Regions from separate parts of the Homo sapiens genome. Here region 1 is linked to region 2. The links are contacts of gene promoters, found by promoter capture Hi-C in human tissues and cell types (Jung and others, 2019). All regions are on one chromosome and are shown on one strand. Each heading gives the region's core, a stretch centred on a gene start or on the middle of the fragment in contact. The rest is flanking DNA. Distances are from core to core; before and after follow the strand shown.

Region 1 (4,140 bases), core at 1,263-3,762, 1.1 Mb after region 2:
AATACAAAAAATTACCTGGGCGTGGTGGTGGGCACCTGTAATCCCAGCTACTCAGGAGGCTGAGGCAGAAGAATCACTTGAACCCAGGAGGCAGAGGTTACAGTGAGCCGAGATCACGCCACTGCAATCCAGCCTGGGCGACAGTGCAAGACTCCGTCTCAAAAAAAAAAAAAAAAAAAAAAAAAAAAAAAAAAAAGTGAAGGACTGTATCTTAAAGGCTGAATCTCACTCTCAACCCCAAAAGATCCCTCTTGAGAAAGAGAGGACCGGGGACCAGAGGACCAGATGCTGCCAGTTCTCACCAATGGAATCACAAGGCAGCTATAAACCAAGTGCCATGGCCATTCATCGGAAATCCAAAACAACAAAACCCTAAGTGGAAGGGATGGAAGGGAATGACAGGACAGAGCTCTAGGCACGATGTCAAATTGTTAACTAATGGCTTTTCAGTCTTTCACCCCATTTAAGAGTTTCAGGCTATTGTAAAAATAATGTCCTAAACAATCTTGGTGCCTGAGTAATTTATTTTGGAGAAGCAAAGTTAGTATTTTAGATTGTAATACCTTTGAAGAGTCAGACAAACCTTGTCTACCTTGTCAGACAAACCCAACTCTACCTTTTACCAGCTATTTTCCCTAGGGCAAATTTCTTATCTTACTCTATTTCCTCATTTGTAAAAGAGGAAGATTAATAATAGAACCCACCTCCTATACAGTTTTGAAGATTAAATTAGGAAATTCATCAAGAGGACTAAGCATAATGCTTAGCACATAATAAGTACTCAAATGCATGGTGGCCATCATTTGAAAGTCAGGATCCTTGCCAGGCACAGTGGCTCACGCCTGTAATCCCAGCACTTTGGGAGGTCAAAGCCGGCGGATCACCTGAGGTCAGGAGTTCGAGACTAGCCTAGCCAACATGGTGAAACCCCATCTCTACTAAAAATACAAACATTAGGCCGGGCGTGGTGGCTTATGCCTGTAATCCCAGCACTTTGGGAGGCCGAGACGGGTAGATCACGAGCTCAGGAGTTTCAGACCAGCCTGGCCAGCATGATGAAACCCCATCTCTACTAAAAATACAAAAATTAGCAGGGCGTGGTGGAAGGCGCCTGTAGTCCCAGCTACTCGGGAGGCTGTGGCAGGAGAATCACTTGAACCTGGGAGACGGAGGTTGCAGTGAGCCGAGATCACACCACTGGACTCCAGCCTGGGCGATAGAACAAGACTCCATCTCAAAAAAAAAAAAAAAAAAAAAAAAAATTAGCCAGCCGCGGTGGCGCATGCCTGTAGTCCCAGCTACTCAGGAGACTGAGGCAGGAGAACCCCTTGAACCCAGGAGGCGGAGACTGCAGTGAGCTGAAATTGCCCCACTGCACTGCACTCCAGCCTGGGTGACAGAGCAAGACTCCGTCTAAAAAAAAAAAAAAGTCAGGATCCTGGTGAGGATCTGTGACCCAAGAACAGATAAACTACCTACAGAATTGTTCCCCAAAAGCTTTGTAATATGGTTCTCTTTAGAAGCCTAAATTCCTAAACAAGCACAATGTTAGAAATCTGGAGACTAAAAGCCGGTTATCCAAACCTAAATTACCAAGAGTTTCACATAACGCTAGATCAACCTGTGAACTCCAACACCTTAGGACCAGAACAGAATGTTGTCCAAAGGGCAAGAGAAAAAGACATACATATTTGCCAAAGAGACACAGTAATAAACCAATTCCCAGCATTTCTGCCCTGTTCTCTAAGGACAACAGAAAGCAACAATGTCTACCCCAGACAGGAGAAATCACTGGGCAAGAAGAGCCCAAAGATATATCTGTTTCTTCCAAAAGGAAGCATCCAACACTATGTGGCCTTTAATCCCTCTACCACGTGGCTGAATTTGCACTTTTCTTAAAGTCAAAGTACACGGCAGTTGAGAGTAAACAGCTGGGCCCAAAGGCACTCATGCCCGGCAAGCACGTTGTGACCTCAAAGAAAACATGAGCAAAATAAAAACACCAAGCACACACCAAATGGGCTTTTAATTGACTGATATCACAACAACCCCCAAGCACCCCTGGTGCTAGATCTTAAGGGGAAAAGAAGGGTTCCTTTTAACAGAGATGCCTATAAACAAGCAAGCTGAAAACGAACAAGTTTAAGAGAGAAAAGCATACAAAAATCTTGGCTGCTAGTGATGAGCCATGGAAAATCATGAATCTGCCAGTGCCAAGGGAGGAGGAAGTCTAATATCTAACTTTGCAGACTTGGGAACATAAAAGCAACAAAGCCATAAGGAAGCCCAAATGCAAAAGAGAGAAAAAAAGGCACATGGCACATTTCCTCTTCATATGGGTAGCAATTCAAGCAGCGCTTTGGGCCTGCAGAGCACTTAGCTCAGTACCCAAAGCCCCTTAGTATTTATATCAACATAACTTCCTGGAGGGTGACAAAAATCTGTCCTGGATTACTGGGTGATTTCTAATATGTACCATGACCAACACTAAGTCAACATTTTAGGGATCAAATTTCCTACTCTGCAGCATGTTGGAATGCATTCTTGGCATTAGACTTCTTCCCATTCCAGTCCACCCTTAGAAAATGCAGAAGCCACTGGGAAATAGACTCAACCTGTCCCAAGATAATATTCCAGCTATGCACAAGTGACTAACAAAAACAAACAGAAGTTCATTCAGATGTCCCTTCACATTCAGTAAAAAACTAATTTCATCCATTTAAATGGAGAGGAGGGGTAATTTCAGGAAGAATACTCAAGGCTACTAAGTCAATATTCACCCGAACTTGGATTCCTCTAAAACCTGGGAATGATCAGAGTTCAAGCCCCTAAACACCTGTAATCCATAGGAGGTTAACTATGGTGCCCAATTCTGAGTAACTGAAAACCCACTTTTGCAAAATGCCAAAATGGCAAGGCAAAAAAAGTGGAAAAGGTATTTCTAAACCAGAATGTTTATCCAAGACTCCAGTACTTTCAGCAGGTCATGGACCATTACTTGAGGGGGGGGGAAAAAAAAAAAAGGCTGGGCGTGGTGGCTCACACCTGTAATTCCAGCACTTTGGAAGGCCAAGGTGGGTGGATCACACCCGAGGTTGGGAGTTCAAGACCAGCCTGGCCAACATGATGAAACCCCACCTCTACTAAAAATACAAAAATTAGCCGGGCATGGTGGTGGAAGCCTATAATCCCAGCTACTCAGGAGGCTGAGGCATGAGAATCGCTTGAACCTGGGAGGCAGAGGTTGCAATGAGCCAGATTGCACCACTGTACTCCAGTCTGGGTGACAAAGTAAGACTCCATCTCAAAAAAAAAAAAAGGTCTGCAGTACTTCTGTACTGGAGCAGTGTAACCAATCCTTCTCCAGGTAGAAGCATTACAGTGGCCTGGCACTGGACATGCCATGCATCTTCAGCTGTTAAGCATCCACTGATGATCCTTGACCGGTGAAGTGCCAAGGCCCAACCACAGATCGACCAGCAGGTAAAGAAACCAAAATCACTATATTCCAGAGGCTCCACAAGGATTAAGCATTGGTGAGCAGCATTTGTTAGCTGCTTGGCCATAGTAACCTAATAAAAAACAAATTTTTTTTTTTTTTTTGAGACAAGGTCTTGGCTCCATTGCCCAGGCTGGAGTGCACTGGCGTAATCATGGCTTACAACAGCCTCAACCTCCTGGGCTCAAGCAATCCTCCTGCCTCAGCTTTCTAAGTAAACTGCGACTACAGGCACGTACCACCACATCCAGCAATTTTTGTGTCTTGTAAAGATGGGGTCTCCCTATGTTAATAGCCTGGTCCCAAGGCTGGTCCTGGGCTTGGGCAATCCTCCCACCTTGGCCTCCCAAAGTGCTGGGATTATAGGTGTGAGCTACCGCGCCCGGCCAAAAACAGTATTAAAGGCCATTTCTATGAATAAATGGGCAGACTGCATATGTGCAGGCTTACCTAACCCATCAACCTCAATATAAGGTCTAACACAAGCAACTTGACTTGAACACAGCTCCCAGCTCCTCAGAAATAGCAGCCTAAGAGTCCCAACAGATACTTACTTCGTGGCTCTTGTTTTAAGAAAGGTCAACTAACTCTGCCAAGACAGACTCACCAACAAAGTTGAACCACCATTACTACAGAGCTGT
Region 2 (4,392 bases), core at 12-2,511:
GAATATAATTGTAATTCAGGACTAACTAGTTCTACCTATTAACAGAGTACGCCAAGCTCACAAAACAATAATAAACAACAAGGATGATGACCACCATTCTTTCCAAGTAAAGCTGCTGCTGATCTCCTGTTTATAAGGCTCCAAGATGATTTTCAAGCACAAGAAACACCCTGTATTTGACTCATTCAGCTACAGTTTCACTCAGACCCTAATGGGGAGGAGGGAGTTTTAAGACAAGCAATAGCATTCTGAATTCCACCAACAACTCTACCATGCCTTACTTGCTATGTGGTTGTGGCTAAGTGTCTTAGCTTCCCTGTGTACCAGATTTGTTCAAGAGCAGCTAAGTAGGGAAGGAAAACAAAAGCCTCATCTGCCTGAAATCCAAAAATACACCCCAATTATTTGTTACAAAAGACAAAATAATGTAAATTGAAATGCTGTTGGTGAATTCTCTTTATTAAAATGAAGTCATCCCACCTTTCAAATACCAGTCATTGTGTCTGATTTCCGAATTCATTACAGGAAGAACTGTGTATGAAGTCACCCAAACACATGCACTCTCCACTTCCCTTAATTGAAAGTTGCTGATTTCCGAGGAGCCAGGGGCTGAGCAGAATGTAAACCTAAAGGCTAAATCAGTAAACAACCCCATCCAAACTGGTCTAAGAGGAAAGCGAGGTGGGTGGGGAGGAAGGTGGGTGACAGGAGAAACTCGGCTGACCACTGCGCCAAGTCAACGCACTCACAGCTCTCGAGGTGACACACACTCCCCTTCCCACCCTCGGGCTGTCAAGTCGGCTGTTTTGGTCCCAGCACCGTGGGGGCAGAACTCCAGAGAAGCAGCTCAAGCTTCAGCTGGGGCCGGGGACCCTCGGGCAACCCGGGCCTGACAGATTGGGGGATGGCAGCCCACCGCCCCCAGGGTGGACAGCCCGAGACAGCCCCAGGTGTGGCCTCGGCCGTAGCCCCAGCCGGGCCCTGCGTCCCGGCAGCCTCACCCAGGCCTGTCCCCGGGACAGCTCCCGCCCCCCAGCTCGGTACCCCGGCTCACTGGCTTGGCTGATCCGCTGGATGTTGCCGCTGCACGTCTGGATGATGCTGCTGAAGTCCCGGAGCTGGGGCCCCGAGGGCCCCGGGTTCCGGTACATGTCTAAGGGACCGTATGACATGACGAGGAGCTGAGACCTGCTCGCTCTACACCGCTCTCCTACCGGAAGCAGCCGCCAGCCGGGACCCGCAGGCTGACGGAGAAACTGGGAAGAGCAAGGGCGGGGAAGGAGCTAAGGCTGCGTGCGCACTAGCCCCGCCCTCACGCGGCGCGCACGCGTCCTCCCCGCCCCGGTCCAAAGTGCGCAGGCGCCGCTGGGACTGGAGCTGGGACTGGAGCTGGGACTGTAGCTTAGAGACAGGACTCCCCGAGGCTTGGGGATGCAGGGCGGGGAGATGACGTCACCTAGTTGGGGCTGAGATTGGATGAGCTTGGGTGGAGGTGTTGTTTCTCGCCAGGGCACAGTGACAAGAGGCAAGAATTTTCGATTTGCATAAAACTGTACCAGATGATCTCAGCCCTTACATCCTATTCTGTTCTGAGAATTCAGGCCCAAATATGGGAGAATTCAACGTTGAAACTCAGACCCGGAACCAAATCGTAACCCGAAATTCCTCTCTACTTCCATCCCCAGGGCTTTGGTAGTGTTTGGGGTTTCCAAACCACTTTCATTTCTCCCTCCACCCCTCTTCTAATCTAAACAATAAAATAATGTTTATTGAGCACATACTATGTGAATCCTCACCGCAATTCACTTGTTCATAAGATTTTTCACAGCAGGGGACGATGCTCTATCTATATTTTTATCATTAGAATAGATAACGGAGAGTCGGTTTTTTAAATGTTGAAGTAAAGTAATTCATCAAAGTAAGCATTATTATTTTCCCTCTTACCGATGAGAAAATTAAGACCAGCGAGGTTAGTTCGCCTTGCTGAAATTTGACTGCAAAACCCAAACGCTAAGCTGACTCTCTCCTCACCTCGCTACTTCTCTAAAATTCATTCTCGTCTAAATCTCTCCCAAATAGCTCGTTCATCTATATCCCAAGCCGGGATATCTTGGAGAACTAGATTCCTAAAATTTAAAAATCGTTCCCTTAAGTAATTTGGAATGCATGACCTCAATGTTCCCACAGAAAACTGCATTTTTGTAAGCCTATGTTAAAAGGAAAGACATAGGATTTTGGTTTGGGAGGAGATCAAGATAGTGAGAAGTGAAGGGGAACTGGCTGCGTTTCCTGTGTTCTACACCCCACCCCACCCCACCCCAGCCTGCTTTGTAGTCTTTGGAAAATGCAAAGACAGAAAGCTGCTTGCCTGGATGAAAGGAGACCCAAAGTGAATGAGCCTGTATATGGCCTTAGGATTTTTTCTTTATTTTATTTTTTTTGAGACAGGGTCCCGCTCTGTCACGCAGGTTGGAGTGCAGTGGCGCGATCTCTGCTCACTGCATCCTCCTTCTCCTGGGCTCAGGAGGTCCTACCACCTAACCTCTGAGTAGCTAGGATTACAGGCGTGCGCCACCACGCCCAGCTAATTTTTATATTTTTTGTAGTGTTGGGGTTTGGCCATGTTGTCCAGGCTGGTCTCAAACTCCTGGGCTCAAGCAATCCACCCACCAGCCTTAGGATTTTTTAAGGGTGACTATCTCTATTTTTCGTTGGAGAATTTATGAGAGCATTTTTTTTCCCTGTCTCTAGAAAGAGACGGATGACATTTGGGGACTCTTATTTTGGTTATTTTATTTTATTTTATTTTTGAGACAGAATCTTGCTCTGTTGCCCAGGCTGGAGTGCAATGGCGCAATCTCGGCTCAATGCAACCTCCGCCTCCTGGGTTCAAGCGATTCTCCTGCCTCAGCCTCCCGAGTAGCTGGGATTACAGGCGTGTACCACCACGCCCGGGTACTTTTTGTATTTTTAGTAGAGATGGGGTTTGACCATGTTGGCCAGGCTGGTCTCGAACTCCTGACCTCAGGTGATCCACCCGCCTCGGCTTCCCAAAGTGTTGGGATTACAGGCGTGAGCCACCGCACCCAGCCTGTTTTGGTTATTATTATAAAACCTTACCGTTTCTTAGAATCTGTAGTTTTATGTCAAATCTTAAGCAAGTCATGTAAATTGCACTTTTTTACCTATATAATAGTACTGATGATTTTTTTCATTTACATTTGACACTATTTAAAGTGAAGTTCAGTAAAGATATTTTTCTTTTAGGAATTAAAAATATTGTTTTCTTTCTCCATGTAAAATAAAAGTGGTTTTTAGGCTGGGCGCGGTGGCTCACAACTGGAATTCCAGCACTTTGGGAGGCTGAGGCAGGCTGATCATTGCTTGAGCTCAGGAGTTCGAGACCAGCCTGGGCAAAATGGCAAAACCCTATCTCTACCAAAAATACAAAAATTAGCTGGGCATAGTGGCCTGAGCCTGTAGTCCCAGCTACTCGGGAGGCTGAGGCAGGAGTGTAGCTTAAGCCAGGGAGGCAGAGGTTGCAGTGAGCATCTCTCATAGCAGTAAATCTGTGCCTTGCAAATACTGGATGTCAAACAAACATTTATTGAATTAACACATGAATAATAAAAATAATAATTTTATCATTGCTTAAATGCCTGTTAGGTGCCAGGCAGTATGAACACATTTTGTGTACGTTATCAGTAATCTCCAAGATAAAGCCCATCTGATAAAGACCACCTGTAGTCAGACAAAGTTAAGTTTATTAACTTGCTGCTGCAAGGGAAACTGCACACCAAAAGAATCATGGAGCATGTCACAAAACACAGGAAGACAGTGAGTTATTCCAGGATTTGGGGGAAAGAAATGTAGATAAATTTTTAAAGAAGCAGTGTTTTGATAGCCCCCAAACACACCAGGCTATGTGTAAAGGGATTATCATCAGGCCCCAGCTAACAAGATCCTGTTTCCTTGGAAACCATGATGCCAAGATAAATGTGGAATGTTGTGTCTGGAAACCCCTTATCTGAAGCTCTGCACCTGCGTTAGAAATTGAGGCTGCTCTTCTGCATCAAAGTAACTGATCCTCCAGGTAAGAGTGATATATTCCATTCTTACTGATAATTTGAGCAACAAATTTTCTAAAAATCTATGGCTTTAGAGAAAATGTCTCTCAGCTCTACATACTTTTGTTAATTAACGAAAGTAGTCTTCATGGGTTTGCACCCATCAAGGCGATATTAGCTCCTTGGTACGGATAAAGAAACTAGAGATTCTGGGTACTTGCCTAATGTCATACAGCTGTTAAGTGACAGAGCCAGGATTCCCATGCACCTTCTGACCCAGCAATTCTACTCCTAACTATATACCCAACTATGCGTGTTCCAAAAA

What was found. Contacts are between HindIII fragments. The study calls those that stand out against the background at their distance.
Region 1: a fragment that was not itself captured here is called in contact with the fragment with the promoter of STX12 in region 2 in 1 of the 25 tissues and cell types used here (dorsolateral prefrontal cortex).

The regions. Positions count from the first base shown.
Region 1 is chr1:26,704,323-26,708,462 of GRCh38, reverse strand. All of the region lies in intron 1 of ARID1A (AT-rich interaction domain 1A), which reads right to left. Among named protein-coding and RNA genes, the nearest start is that of ARID1A, 10 kb to the right of the region's middle. RefSeq lists an enhancer at 548-1,047. The HindIII fragment of the contact is 8,241 bases long and covers 1-4,140 here.
Region 2 is chr1:27,770,088-27,774,479 of GRCh38, reverse strand. STX12 (syntaxin 12) reads right to left here and starts at 1,261. Exons shown (of 9, transcript NM_177424.3): 1 at 1,055-1,261. The coding sequence starts at 1,172. RefSeq lists enhancers at 424-924, 1,122-1,271, 925-1,425, 1,392-1,541 and a silencer at 802-1,011. The HindIII fragment of the contact is 12,641 bases long and covers 1-4,392 here.